Linked DNA regions of Homo sapiens: region 2 is linked to region 1. Evidence: promoter capture Hi-C in human tissues and cell types (Jung and others, 2019). All regions are on one chromosome and are shown on one strand. The core of a region is centred on a gene start or on the middle of the fragment in contact, and the rest is flanking DNA. Distances in the headings are between cores, read along the strand shown.

Region 1 (6,929 bases), core at 3,435-5,934:
ACCGTGGGAGGCCGAGGAGGGAGGACCACTCGAGCCCAGGAGTTCGAGAGCAGCCCAGGCAACACAGTGAGACCCCATCTCCACAGAAAATACAATACAATTTAGCTGAACATGGTGGTGTGCACCTCTAGTCCCAGCTACTTTGGTGGGAAGACGGCTTGAGCCTGGGAGGTCAAGGCTGCAGTGAGCCGTGATCGCGCCACTGCACTCCAGCCTGGGTGACCAGGCAAGACCCTCTCCAAAAAAAAAAAAGAAAGAAAAGGTATATGTTGGATGCTGATCCCTCATACTGTAAACATGACCTTACGTGGAAACAGGACCTTTGCAGATGTAGTCAAGTTGAAGTGAAGTCATTAGTGGGGGACCCTGAGCCAACACCACTTCTGTTTTTATAAAAAGGCAAAATTTGCACACGAACGGGCACCTGGAGAACGCCATGTGACGACGGCGGCAGAGACTGGGGCCACGTGACGACGGGGGCAGAGATTGGGGCCACGTGATGACGGAGGCAGAGATTGGGCAATGCCCCTGCAGGCCAAGGACACCAAAGAAGGCAACAGGCCCAGAAAACAGGACAGAGTCATCCCCCAGATGGGGACAGACTCTCCTTCACCACCATGGAAGGAACCAGCCCCACTGACGCCTTCACCTCGGACTGCAGTCCTCCAGAACCGTGAGATGTGAGCTTCTGCCATGTCACATAGCTGGCGTGGGACTCTGTCACAGCAGCCCCCGGATGTCAACACGCCCTCCAGCTCCAGCCCCCAGTGAGGGTGGAGAGTCCAGGGAAATGGGGCTGGGGGCTGGGAAAGGAGTTCTGAGGGAAGTGCCTGGGGCCTGTGACCTCCTACAGGCCAAGGGACAGGCCACAGAGATCCCCAGAGGTGGACGGAGTCCTCTGAAGAGGGGACAACCATGGCTTGGCTCTGACACACCCAAGAAGTCTGAGGCCGGAATCTGCAGATGCTCTGGGGGAGGACAGGGTGACACTCCCTGATGGTCCCCCAGGTCCAGGTGGCGCCCCACCAGGGAGGGGGCACCAGGGGTGGACTCAGGCTCTGCAGTAGAACCTGGGGAGAGGACAGGTCTTGGCAGAAGGAAGCTGTTGGCACCAGCTAGAGTAGAGCCTCTTCCAGGCTGGGGGAGCCACAGGGAAAAAGCTCCCACAATGGACAGGCCACGAGCGGGAGAGTGAGGCCGAAGCCCTGGCAAGCAGAGAGAGTGACAGCCCAGTCACCACAGGTCTCCAGAGAGGAGACTTGTCTCTCCTCCCCTTTTCTTCTCCTTGCCTCCCCCACACAGCCCCAGACAGCTCACGGCTGTGGCTGGCAAGACCACGCAGTGTGTAGAAACACCAGGCTGTGAGACAGAGAAGTTGGATGTGTGTCCTGTGGCCACAAACTTAGTAGCTTCGAACAACACGAATGGATCATCTCATAGCAGTGGAGGTCCGAAGTCTGCTGTGGGTCTCACAGGGCTAAAATCAAGGCATGGGCAGGGCGGGTTCCTTCGGGAGGCTGCAGGAGAGAATCTTTCCTCATCTCTTTCAGCTTCTGGAAATGGCTCGAGCCCTTGGTTCAGGGCTAGCAGCAGGCATCTCACTCACACCTGCCATGACCTTCTCCTCTGGCCAAATGTCCTCCTCCCTCCTTCTGATAAGGACCCTGTGGAGACACTGGGCCCACCTGGATAATCCAGGGTACTCTCCCATTAGCCACACCTTATGGTCCACACATATTAAGTTCCCTTAATTAGCCACACGTGTGAAGTCCCTGCTGCCACAAAAGGTGACACTCATAGGTTCTGAGAACCAGGATGTGGACATCATTGGCGACCATACTCAGCTGGCCACAGAAGTTCACCTCTATGGACTAAGGGGAAAAAAATCAAGCTTTTAAAAAATGAAAGTTAGTTTGCTTCAGAAGTCTTACTGAGGACTATAGACCGAGGCCTATATAGCCCAGGAGCAGTTTAGGCCTCAGTAAGACTTCTGAATAAAACTTTCTTTTTTTTTTTTTTTTTTTTTTGAAACGGAGTCTCACTGTGTCGCCCAGGCTGGAGTGCAGTGGCGCGATCTCGGCTCACTGCAAGGTCCGCCTCCCGCGTTCACACAATTCTCCTGCCTCAGCCTCCCGAATAGCTGGGAGTACAGGTGCCTGCCACCTCTCCCGGCTAATTTTTTGTATTTTTAGTAGAGACGGGGTTTCACTGTGTTAGCCAGGATGGTCTCGATCTCCTGACCTCGTGATCCGCCCGCCTCGGCCTCCCAGAGTGCTGGGATGACAGGCGTGAGCCACCGCACCGGGCCCCATTCTCTAAAAGTTTAATTTTTTTCCTTAGATGAAAATCACAGTGACCCAGATAGGACTCAGAGTGGACTGCTCAGGGACGTCTGGAACACTGCGGGGACCCAGCACCCCGGTACCAGCACAGGCCACTTGAGCCCCCACGGCTCCTCCATGGTTACAGGTGACTGAGTGACTCTCTCCTGAGTCTCTGACCTCCCACTTGGTTGAGAGTCCTGAGTTGTATTCAGTTAGTTCATTTTACTTCTTGCTGAAGGGGTACATTCTTCTGTGAGACTTTTTATGTCTTACGAAGGGGGAATTCTCCTCGTTGAAAGATACTAGGTAGGAATGGCTTCATGTGTAACCCATACAGAGTCTATACTTGCAAGTATCTTTCTAGAAGTAAGGGGTTAGCTAAAGGAGATTGAACACTGAAATGGCCAAAACTGGGATTCTCAAACATTAAGGCGTGCCAGGTTTTCTGGGACTCCAGTTGACTACATATCATGGCCCATTCTTGTACACATTTTTAAATAGTTAAATTATATCAAGGAAAAGTCAGAACTCAGAATCATCAACCTGCAAATATAGGGTTAAAATGTAGAGTCTTCTGGCGGGGTGTGGTGGCTCACACCTGTAATCCCAGCACTTTGGGAGGCCGAGGCGGGTGGATCACAAGGTCAGGAGATCAAAACCATCCTGGCTAACACGGTGAAACCCCGTCTCTACTAAAAATACAAAAAAAATTAACCAAGCGTGGCGGCGGGCACCTGTAGTCCCAGATACTCGGGAGGCTGAGGCAGAAGAATGGCGTGAACTTGGGAGGTGGAGCTTGCAGTGAGCTGAGATCACGCCGCTGCACTCCAGCCTGGTGACAGAGCGAGACTCCATCTCAAAAAAAAAGAAAGATAAATGATGCTAGTCCTTGCCTTTTCCTGAACAAGATAACGTCTTATAGGGCGAGTGATGATGCCTCTGCGGTCCATAACCAGATGTGCTCCTGCCCCCAAACCCGGATGTGATTCTGCTTTGATGCAGCTTCTGAGCCAGTTTCATGTGATCTGCACGTGCTGACCTCCCGCCACCTGCATATGAACTGTGAGCTGAAACCCGGGGCGGAGCCTCTGACAGGGCTGCCCCCGGGCTGGTGTGAGCTGAAACACGGAGCCGGAATCTCTGACAGAGCTGCCCCCGGCTAGAAACCTCACTCTTCTATAGTCCTCGGTAAAACTTCTGAGTAAAGCTCACTTTAATTCCTTAAAAGCTTTTTTTATCAACACCACAAACCTCTTTCCCATCCAGTTGGATGAAGGAGTAGCTATAGATTTAAATTTAGTTTAAGGTTTTAATTTCTTGACAAGAGTGGGTTGCACATACCAGCTAATAAGCAGATGGCCCGTTTTACCTAAAATGGATCAAACTACAAAATTAGTGATTTGTCCTCAATCTCACCCAGAAGAGAGTAAGAACTGACCTCATACATTTAAGGAACAAAGTGGGACGAAGGAAGCCTGATGTGACTGGGGTTGGGGGTTCCCATCAGGCCAAGCTCAGGAGCACGGCCCACTAGCCCGAGAGGGTGCTGTTGAGAGGCCGCTCACCAGGCCTAACATTCATCTGGTACCTGCCCCTTCTCTGCAGGGAAGGAGCTTTCCAGAATCCTGGGGAAGGTACCTCCTGAGGAAGGAGTGTGGGAAAGACACTGAGGAGAAGGCATCACACAGACTCAGGTGAGCACTCAGCATCTGGTATTTATGATATTTGCAAGAGACCTAACATCAGACAGTGCGGAGGGCCCTGTGGATGGCCCAGGCTGTGAACCCAGGAGAAACTGTGTAGAAAGGCGCATGGCCTCACCGGCTGGGATCTAGTGACGGTGCCGCAAAGGAGGCAGGCGGTCTAGTCAGGTGACGACAGTTTGCTGTGGGAGGATGTGGGGACTGCCTGGCAGGAGTTCAGAGAGCCTGCTGGCTTCTGACCTCGCACCTACGAGGGTCATAGGAGGCCACCTGCTCAGCAGCCAGTGGGGGTGCTCCAGGTGACAGGTCTATAGACCAGGGTGGGGCAGAAGGGCTGGCAGCACCCAGAGGTTGGGCAGAAGGAAGCCACACACAAAACAGGCTTGCAGCTCACAGGCACACAGCAGGCCACCTGGCAGGGGCTGGGCACACAGCAGGCTGGCTGGCAGCAGGTGGATACCCCACACAGGGGCCGGCACAGCAGAGCCACACAGGGGGCTGAGCAGCAGCAGGAGGTCCCATAGCCCTCGGGTGGGTAGCAGGTGCTGGGGACACAGCACGGGGAGCCAGGGCAGGCCATTGGGCAGCCCGAAGAGTGGCTGGTGTGGCACATGATGGAGTGTGGACAGGTGGGGGGCGCAGAGGACAGGGCTGGTCTGGAGCCTGCTTCCTTAGGTGGCCTTTATACCCAGGCTACCGGCATCCTGGCAACAAGCCCCCTGGCATCTTCCTCGTGGGTGGTTTTTCCTCCTCTGCCCTGTCTGGTTGATCTTTCTGTGTTTTTCTGTTGAGGTTACTCAGTTCAGGAAACTCTTTCAGCTAGGGGTGCCCTATCATTCAGCAGACCGTGTGTTTCCTGGAAACAGAGCAGGGGTAGCTGGTGAAGGGCTGTCAGTGAGGCCAGGGGCCCACCTCATGGATGTTCAAGGTCCCCCCGTTGTAAATGCCATCTGGAGCTCACACAAGCACAGTCACACTCACTACACCAGGGGCCCCGTTTTGACTGAGAAGCTCAGTCATCATCAGGGTCTTCCCAAGTAACGAGAGCCAAACTACTGGGCTCTATATTGTGGAATAATAATGATGATTATTGAGGTAACAGTAATGCACAGAGGTCTAGCACTGTGCCAGGCTGTGATTATCTCATTCATCTTTGCCAGCATTCGGGGTGGCCGATACCCCATTTTACAGATGTGCAATTTGTAAGTCATAGAGGGTTTGCACAATGGGTGCGTGTCTGCACCACTGCAGAGGTGCAGGGATCTGGACTGCTTAGTTTCACTCTGGGATCCATGGTCGTTACCACTGTGCCAAATTATACTAGGGCTTGAAGGTTCAATAAGTGACTCATCCTGAAGTCCTGAACCAGCTCGGACAGAGAAGATGGACGAAAACATCAGCCACGTTGGCGTCTGCAGAGCATGGCTCAGGCGTGTGACCACAGTGGGCTTCCTGACACCACACCTCAGAAGTGCCCACTTCCCACGAGTAGCACTAATGGCCACAGGACACCTCCTCTGCAGACGGAGCCCAGGAGGACCCATCACGGAGTCGGGCATGAGCTATTCATATCTGGTTCCTCTCCCTCGCTGTGGGTCTGATCAGTCTCACCCCTGCAGAGGCAGCTTGGGGGAAAGTGAGGAGCTGGTGTGAAATTCCAGGATGCCCCTGAACTTGGGAAGCAGCGGGCAGGAGTGTGGATGACACGCTCCTCCTCACACTCCAGCTCTGTTCTCTTGATGGATTGGCCACAGCGCTTTATTCTACGGTGGTGTCACACGGTGGGGGATGAGCCATCTCTCAGGGCAGAGCTACTCTGTCCATCCCAGGCAGCTCCCAGGGGCACCCTCTGCTCCTGTGTGGGTCCTTCTGTGCCTGCTGGTGGTGGATATGGGTGATTCCTGCCAAGAAGCCTTCAGACAAGTCAGACACCACATTAATGAAATCCCCTCCAAGGCTGAAGACCAAGTGGGGTCTCAGAGCTGTGGACAGAACTTAGAAGTCTATGGACCCAGAGCCGATCTGTGGCCATGTGGGAGTCACCTTAAGGCCTAGGGACAAGCCGGGCGAGGCCACAAGTTCACAGGCAACTCCTTTCACTGCTATAGTTCAGAATCACACTTAAAAACCAAGAGAATTGGGGCAGCCACAGTGATTGTGAGCTAGTCACCAAGTAATCCATTTTAAAAGTTGGTTGTCTTACGAGTCGATTACAGAAGAACAAGGATGCGTCTTTGATATTTATCTGCTCCTTTACCTTCCCCTGTTCCTCCTACTCCTTCCTGCAGGTCAGGGCCCACCTGGCCTCGTCCTAGTCAACCTAAAGGACATCCGTGCACGTCACCTGCAGTGCACATCTGCAGGGGAGGATTTCTCCCAGCTTTTGCTCTTCTGAACAGGTTTTTACCTCAACATGTTTTGAAGGATTTTTTTCATAGGTATAGAATTCTGGGTTGGCAAATTTTTTTTGAGCATTTTAAAGAAGTTGTTCCATTGTCTTCTGGCCTCCACTGTTTTTGCTGAGAAGTGAGGGATTTTCTCATCCTTGCAAGAACCTTATACCTTGTATGAGAAGTGTCTTTTTTTTCCACTGTCTTCAATAATTTTTTGATTTTCATTACTCTTACTATTTGATGCTTGGATATGGTTTTCTTTGTGTTGATCCTCCTAAAGGTTCTGAGATTCTTGGGTCTGTAAGTTGTTATTTTTTAAATCATATTTGGTGCCTTGGGCCATTATTTTTTTGAAACTTATTTATGGTTCAGTATCGCTCTCTTCTCTTTCCAAGGTTCAAACTACTAGTATGTTAGACAGTTCAGTACTGTCTCATATGTCTTTTCATTTTTCTAGATTCTTTCTCCTCTTCTTGAGACAAGATAATTTCTACTGGTGTGTCTTCAGG
Region 2 (7,056 bases), core at 82-2,581, 280 kb before region 1:
TTCAGCCTGAGCAGCAGCTACAAGGAAGGCGAGCTCATCACCATCGGAGTCGCCACCTGGGGCACTGTCCACCGCCGCGAGGGCCTGATCCATCCCACGGTGAGTGCGGCCCCCTAGGGAGGGGAGCCTAAGACCAGGGGTGTGGGTGAGGTCTGACTGGGCGCTGTGGGGAGCAGGTGGAGTGTACGGGGGCCGGGGTGTGGGTGACGTCTGACCGGGCGCTGTGGGGAGCAGGCGGAGTGTGCGGGGGCCGGGGTGTGGGTGACGTCTGACCGGGTGCTGCGGGGAGCAGGTGGAGTGTGCGGGGGCCGGGGTGTGGGTGAGTTCTGACCGGGTGCTGCGGGGAGCAGGTGGAGTGTGCGGGGGAGGCGGGGTGTGGGTGACGTCTGACCGGGTGCTGCGGGGAGCAGGTGGAGTGTGCGGGGGAGGCGGGGTGTGGGTGACGTCTGACCGGGTGCTGCGGCGAGCAGGTGGAGTGTGCGGGGGCCGGGGTGTGGGTGAGTTCTGACCGGGTGCTGCGGGGAGCAGGTGGAGTGTGCGGGGGAGGCGGGGTGTGGGTGACGTCTGACCGGGTGCTGCGGGGAGCAGGTGGAGTGTGCGGGGGAGGCGGGGTGTGGGTGACGTCTGACCGGGTGCTGCGGGGAGCAGGTGGAGTGTGCGGGGGCCGGGGTGTGGGTGAGTTCTGACCGGGTGCTGCGGGGAGCAGGTGGAGTGTGCGGGGGAGGCGGGGTGTGGGTGACGTCTGACCGGGTGCTGTGAGGAGCAGGTGGAGTGTGCGGGGGAGGCGGGCACACTCAGGAGATTGGGTGCAACTCCCGGCCCACCCCTGACCCAGGTGACCCCGGACAAACGGCTAACTTGGCTGGACTCTGGTATCTCCCTCAAGGTTGTAAGAGGGGTCCACGTGACAGTCACTCGCTGCGAGGGTTCCGCTAACAGAGCAGAGGGAGGGGGCGTGGCCAGCAGGCAGCTGGGTGGGGCTGAGCCAGGGCGATCCGACCCCGAACCGGAGCTTTTAGCACTTTGAGTCCCTGTACTCAGAGGTCTCCTGCAGCCGGGAATCCCACTGTGCTGTGGTCCCTGGCAGCCAGCACCCACCCCCAGCTTCTCCGTCAAGGTTGAGGACGGAGCACTCCTGCCTCTGATTAACTGGACGCAGGAGAAGCAGTTGCTTTAATCCGGAGCCTTGAGTTGGGACAGATAATGAGTCATTCAACCAGATTTTCCAAGGACACACTAACTTTGGTATGATGCGTGTGTGCCCCTGAATCCACGTGGTCAGGAAAGCCCAGGGAACACTGGCCTGTGACTCACTGAGCAGGTTCCCTTGTTACCCCGAGGGGTGATTTACTCCTCTGACAGTGACACGGACACTGTGCGTCCATTCCCCGGGCGGGCAGAGGACACTCCCAGATGCCCACGAGGGGCCCAGCAAGCACTGGCCAGCCCCAGCCCGGCCTTCGCCTTCCTTTGCGTCAGAATCATGAATGTGTCCGGCGGGGTCGGACTGGACCAGCTGTTGGGCTTTGTTTGCTCTTTTTACGAATTGAAAAACTGAAGCCAGGAGCGGCTGGGTGACGTCCCAGGTCACTCCTTACTTTCCTCCCCACGCTGAGTTCAGACGACTTCCCGTGACACCACTGTTGGTGGCGGAATGGGACTGTGGCTGCTTCCGCTCAGCCACGCTCCCTCTCTGTGGACGGCGGAGGGTGTGTGTCCCAGCCCGGCTGCCGCCCTCCCTTAGGTCTGTCTCCCGGGGCTGCTGTAACCCAGGCTCACAAACCTGGTGGCTTAAAGCAGCAGAAACTTAGTCTATCAGATCTGGAATCCGCGTCGATTGGCCATCATCCAGCCATCGGTGTTGGCGGGGCCACCTCCCTCTAGGGCCTAGGGGAAGAGCATTCCTTGCTGCCTCCAGCGTCTGGGTGCTGATGGCATTCCCTGGCCAGTGGCCACCTCCCTCCAGTCGCTGCCTCCGTGTCCCATGGCCGCCTCCCTCCAGTCTCTGCCTCCGTGTCCCGTGGCCGCCTCCCTCCAGTGTCTGCCTCCGTGTCCCGTGGCCGCCTCCCTCCAGTGTCTGCCTCCGTGTCCCGTGGCCGCCTCCCTCCAGTCTCTGCCTCCGTGTCCCGTGGCCGCCTCCCTCCAGTCTCTGCCTCCGTGTCCCGTGGCCGCCTCCCTCCAGTCTCTGCCTCCGTGTCCCGTGGCCGCCTCCCTCCAGTCTCTGCCTCCGTGTCCCGTGGCCGCCTCCCTCCAGTCTCTGCCTCCGTGTCCCGTGGCCGCCTCCCTCCAGTCTCTGCCTCCGTGTCCCGTGGCCTTCTCTGTGTGCCTGTGTCAAATCTCCCCCAAGAGTTCCGTAAGAACACTCGTGATGGCGTGTAGGTCCCACTAGGGTCATCTAGGGTGATGCCTTCATATCCAGATCTTTAACTGACATCTGCAAAGATGCTTTTCCAAACAAGGAAATGAGGAGCAGCACTTACCGGGTCCATGAGCAGGCCTTGATGTCTTTGGGTGGCCATGATTCAGCCAACTGCGGTCCTCCCTCTGACCTCAAAGATTTCTGTCCACTCCACAGGCAAAATATGTTCACACCATTGCCAGATCTTGGCTGGGTGTGGGGGCTCACACCTGTCATCCCAGCACATTGGGAGGCTGAGATGGGCGGATCACTTGAGGACAAAAGTTCAAGACCAGCTTGGCCAATATGGTGGAAACCCTGTCTTTACTAAAAATACAAAAATTAACTGGGCATAGTGGCAGGCGCCTGTAATCCCAGCTGAGGCAGAAGAATTGCTTGAACCCAGGAGCTGGAGGTTGCAGGGAACCAAGATCATGCCACTGCACTCCAGCCTGGGTGACAGAGCAAGACTCTGTCTAAACTAAACCAAACCAAACCAAACAAAATGATCCCCTCCAACTACAAACCTGTTACAGCAGAAACTCCAAGATCAAAATCTCATGTAAATATCATAAGCTTGGCCGAGTGCGGTGGCTCACACCTGTCATCCCAACACTTTGGGAGGCCAAGGCAGGCATATCACCTGAGGTCAGGAGCTTGAGACCAGCCTGGTCAACATGGAGAAACCCCGTCTCTACAAAAAATTAGCCGGGCATGGTGGTAGGCGACTGTAATCCCAGCTACTGGGAGGCCAAGGCAGGAGAATCGCTTGAACCTGGGAGGCGGAGGTTGCAGCGAGCCAAGGTTGTGCCACTGCACTCCAGCCCAGGTGACAGAGCGAGACACCGTCTCAAGCAAAACAAAACAAACAAACAAAAATATCATCAGCTCAAAAGTCCCAAATGTCATCATTTAAGTCAGGGACGCTGAAGACTCTGGGTCTGATCCATTCTGGGGCAGAATTTCTCTTCATATGTGCACCTGTGAGACCAGAAAACAAGTCACCTATCTCCAAAATACAAGGGAAGAGCAGGTGTAGCATCACAGCTGCAGACACTCTCATTCCCAATGGGGGAACACGGGAGGAACGAAGGCATCACCAGCCCCAGGCAATTCCAAAACCCGGCAGGCAGAATGCACTAGGTGATAAGACCGGGGAGACCCCTCTGTGGCTTGGGCACCCCCTACCCTGCTCTGTGTCCACGGCCCTGCCTTCAGGACGATCCTTTTCCCTGAAGGTTATAGCTTTTAGTCTGCTTGAAGATTTTAAGGAGTCTGACGACCTTTCATTTTATCCCGTCTCTGTCCCTTTCAGTCCAAATTTGCAGTGTTGTTGTTGATATAACATTTGTGAAAACCTTGCAGTCCTCCTTTGAATGCCATAGGAATTTCTGCCAGTAGACAAAAAGGGCTCTGCAGACCTTTCCTGTGATGCTGTCTCCACTCCTGGCTTCTGAGATGGTTGAGTGAATTGCAGTCTCCTTGCCTGGTCTCTTCATCACTAGCAGGAGGTTGTTTAGACACACCCTTGGCCCTCTCTCTTTTTTCTTTTTGTTTTTTTTTTGAGACAGTCTCACTCTGTTGCCCAGGCTGGAGTGCAGTGGTGCGATCTCAGCTCACTGCAACCTCCGCCTCCTGGGTTCAAGTGATTCTCCTGCCTCAGCCTCCTGAGTAGCTAGGTCTACAGGCACCCACCACCATGCCCAGCTAATTTTTGTATTTTTAGTAGAGACAGGGTTTCTCCATGTTGGCCAGGCTGGTCTCGAACTCCTGACCTCAAGTGATCCGCCCGCCTCGGCCCCCCAAAGTGCTGGGATTACAGGTGTGAGCCACTGCGCTTGGCCGTTGGCCTTCTCTTTAGAGTCTGCTTTTCGAACAGTGAATCTCTTTTCATTTTCTGCATTATATGCGACCTGCATTATATGCGACCTGCATTATATGCGACCTGCATTATATGCGACCTGCATTATATGCGACCTGCATTATATGCGACCCGGATAGGCTGAGAATTTCCCACATCATCAAGTCCTGGTTCCATTTTGTCTGTCAGTTTTTCCCTCAATTTCTCTCTTTCCTTTTGCATTTTGTGAGAAGCAGCAAGAAAAAAAAGCCAGGCCACAACTTGAACACTTTGCTTGGAGATCTCTGCGGCTAAATCTTCAAGTTCATCATTTACAGTTCTGCTCTCCACAAAACTGCACAGCACAATTCAGCCAGGCTTTCTGTCACTCTGCAGCAAAGTTGGCCTTCCCTCCAGTCTCCAGTACCACATTTCCCACTTCCTTCTGAGCCCTCACCAGAAGAAGCAACTGTGATGTTCATTTTTCTGCTAAAATTCTGTTCATGCCAGTATATGTATTCTCTCTCTCTCTCTTTTTTTTTTTTTGAGATGGAGCCTTGCTCTTTTGCCCAGGCTGGAGTGCAGTGGTGCGATCTTGGCTCACTGCAACCTCCACCTTCCGGGTTCAAGCAAATCTCCCACCTTAGCCTCCCGAGTAGCTGGGATTACAGGCATGTGCCACCATACCCAGCTAATTTTTGTATTTTTAGTACAGACGGGGTTTCACCATGTTGGCCAGGCTGGTCTCGAACTCCTGACCTCAACTGATCTGCCCACCTTGGCCTCCCAAAGTGCTGGGATTCCAGGCGTGAGCCACCGTGCCTGGCCCGTATATATATTTTCTAAGGCAGCGGTCCCCAGCCTTTTTGGCACCAGGAACTGGTTTCGTGGAAGAGAGTTTTTCCACAGATGGGGGCGGGGTGGTAAGCGGTTGGTTTGGGGATGATTCAAGCACGTTACGTTTATTGTGCACTTTATTTCTATTATTACATTGTAATATATAATGCAGTAATCATACAGCTCACCATAATGTAGGATCAGTGGGAGCCCTGAGCTTGTTTTCCTGCAGCTAGACGGTCCCATCATCTGGGGGTGATGGGGGACAGTGACAGATCATTAGGCATTAGATTTTCGTAAGGGGAGTACAACCTAGGTCCCTCGCATGCACAGTTCACAGTAAGGTTAGTATTCCCATGAGAATCTAATGCCGCGGATCTGACAGGAGGTGGAGCTCGGACAGTCACACACACGATGGGGAGCGGCTGTAAATAGGGATGAAGCTTCGCTCGTTCACCCACCACCCACCTCCTGCTGTGAGCAGCCCAGATCCTCACAGGCCACAGACCATTACCAGTCCATGGCCCAGGGGGTGGGGGACCCCTGCTCTAGGGCAACAAAGCCCTCTCTGCCCTGCTCCTCACTTCCTTCTGAGCCCTTACTGCGAGTTGTTTTTTTTCTGAGACAGGGTCTCACTGTTGCCCAGGCTGGAGTATGTTGGTGCGATCCTCAGCCTTGACCTCCCGGGCTCAAGTGATCTTCCCATCTCAGCCTCCCAAGTAGCTGGGACTACAGGTGTGCACCACCATGCCCGGCTAATTTTTTCATTTTTGTAGACATGAGATCCGCTATGTCGTCCAGGCTGGTCTCGAACTCCAGGGCTCAGGTGATCCTCCCGCCTTGGCCTCCCAAAGTGCTGGGATTCCAGGCGTGAGCCACCGCGCCCGTCTCCGCAAGGCCTTTAATACCACATTCCCACCAACATTCTCTTCAAGGACGTTGAGACGTTTTCCATTCATGGTGCTTCTAAATCCTCCCGTCGTCTCCCCATTGCCGGTTTCAATGCCACTTCCACATTTTTAGGTGTTTGTTGCAGCAGCAGCCCACTTCCTCACCCCAGACCTGTATCCGTTTCCTGTGGCTGCCGTAACAAATGGCCTCAAGCCTGAAACAGCAGCATTGTGGTCTCTCACGTGTCTGGAGGACAGAACTCTGAAGTCAGGGTCACACGTCTGTTTCCCCGCCTCCTCCACTCCTGGGGGGTCCGGCTTTCTCCACTTGTGGCTATGTCACTTGCCCCTGCCTCTGTGGTCCCTCGGCCTCCTCTCCTGTGTGTGTCCCCCACCACCTCTCTCCTGTAAGGACACCTGTGATGGTATTTTGGGCCCACTCGGATCATCCAAGTTAATCTCATGTTTCGATCACATGTGCAAAGTCGCTTTCTCCAATAAGGCCACGTCCACAGATTCCAGGGACTGGGACCTGGTCTCTGTGAGGGCCGGTGTTCAGCCTGCTCGCGTTAGAGAGGCAGAGCTTTCCAGAAGCAGTGTCTGACGCTTCCTGGCCATCCCAGGGCAGCTTCCCCGCCGAGTACATACTGGATGAGGATGGCCAAGGGAACCTGACCTGCCTAGACAGCAACCACTCTCACTTCATCCTCGTGGACGACGGGACCCACGGCCAGTACGGGGTGGAGATTCCTCTGAGGACCAGGCTGGAGAAGTTCATATCGGAGCAGACCAAGGAAAGAGGAGGTAGGGGAGCTTGCTTTCGAGGGTGATTGGGCAGAGAGCACAGTGGGCTGGTCAGAGTGTCAGGTACAGCTGGTCACGACCAGGACGTTCAACAGGCCTGGCGTTTGGCAGAGAGTGCAGTGGGCTGGTCAGAGTGTCAGGTACAGCTGGTCACAGGTCATTCGTGGCACTCGGCAGAGAGCGCGGTGAGCTGGTCAGACTGTCAGGTACAGCTGGTCACAACCAGGATGTTCATGGTACTCGGAACGTCCTCAGAACACACCTGGGTTTCTTTCCCGTGTCTCTTT

What was found. The method cuts DNA at HindIII sites, captures the fragments that hold promoters and counts their contacts. A contact is called where the count stands out against the background at its distance.
Region 2: a fragment that was not itself captured here is called in contact with the fragment with the promoter of KRTAP12-4 in region 1 in 1 of the 25 tissues and cell types used here (H1 embryonic stem cells).

What each region holds. Positions count from the first base shown.
Region 1 is chr21:44,649,975-44,656,903 of GRCh38, forward strand. It overlaps KRTAP12-4 (keratin associated protein 12-4), which reads right to left and starts at 4,685. Exons shown (of 1, transcript NM_198698.1): 1 at 4,239-4,685. The coding sequence starts at 4,640. The coding sequence ends at 4,302. All of the region lies in intron 1 of TSPEAR (thrombospondin type laminin G domain and EAR repeats), which reads right to left. RefSeq lists enhancers at 5,149-5,649, 5,650-6,150. The HindIII fragment of the contact is 6,744 bases long and covers 2,722-6,929 here.
Region 2 is chr21:44,369,245-44,376,300 of GRCh38, forward strand. It overlaps TRPM2 (transient receptor potential cation channel subfamily M member 2), which reads left to right. Exons shown (of 32, transcript NM_003307.4): 5 at 1-99; 6 at 6,589-6,769. Among named protein-coding and RNA genes, the nearest start is that of TRPM2, 19 kb to the left of the region's middle. RefSeq lists an enhancer at 940-1,773. The HindIII fragment of the contact is 5,830 bases long and covers 1-4,246 here.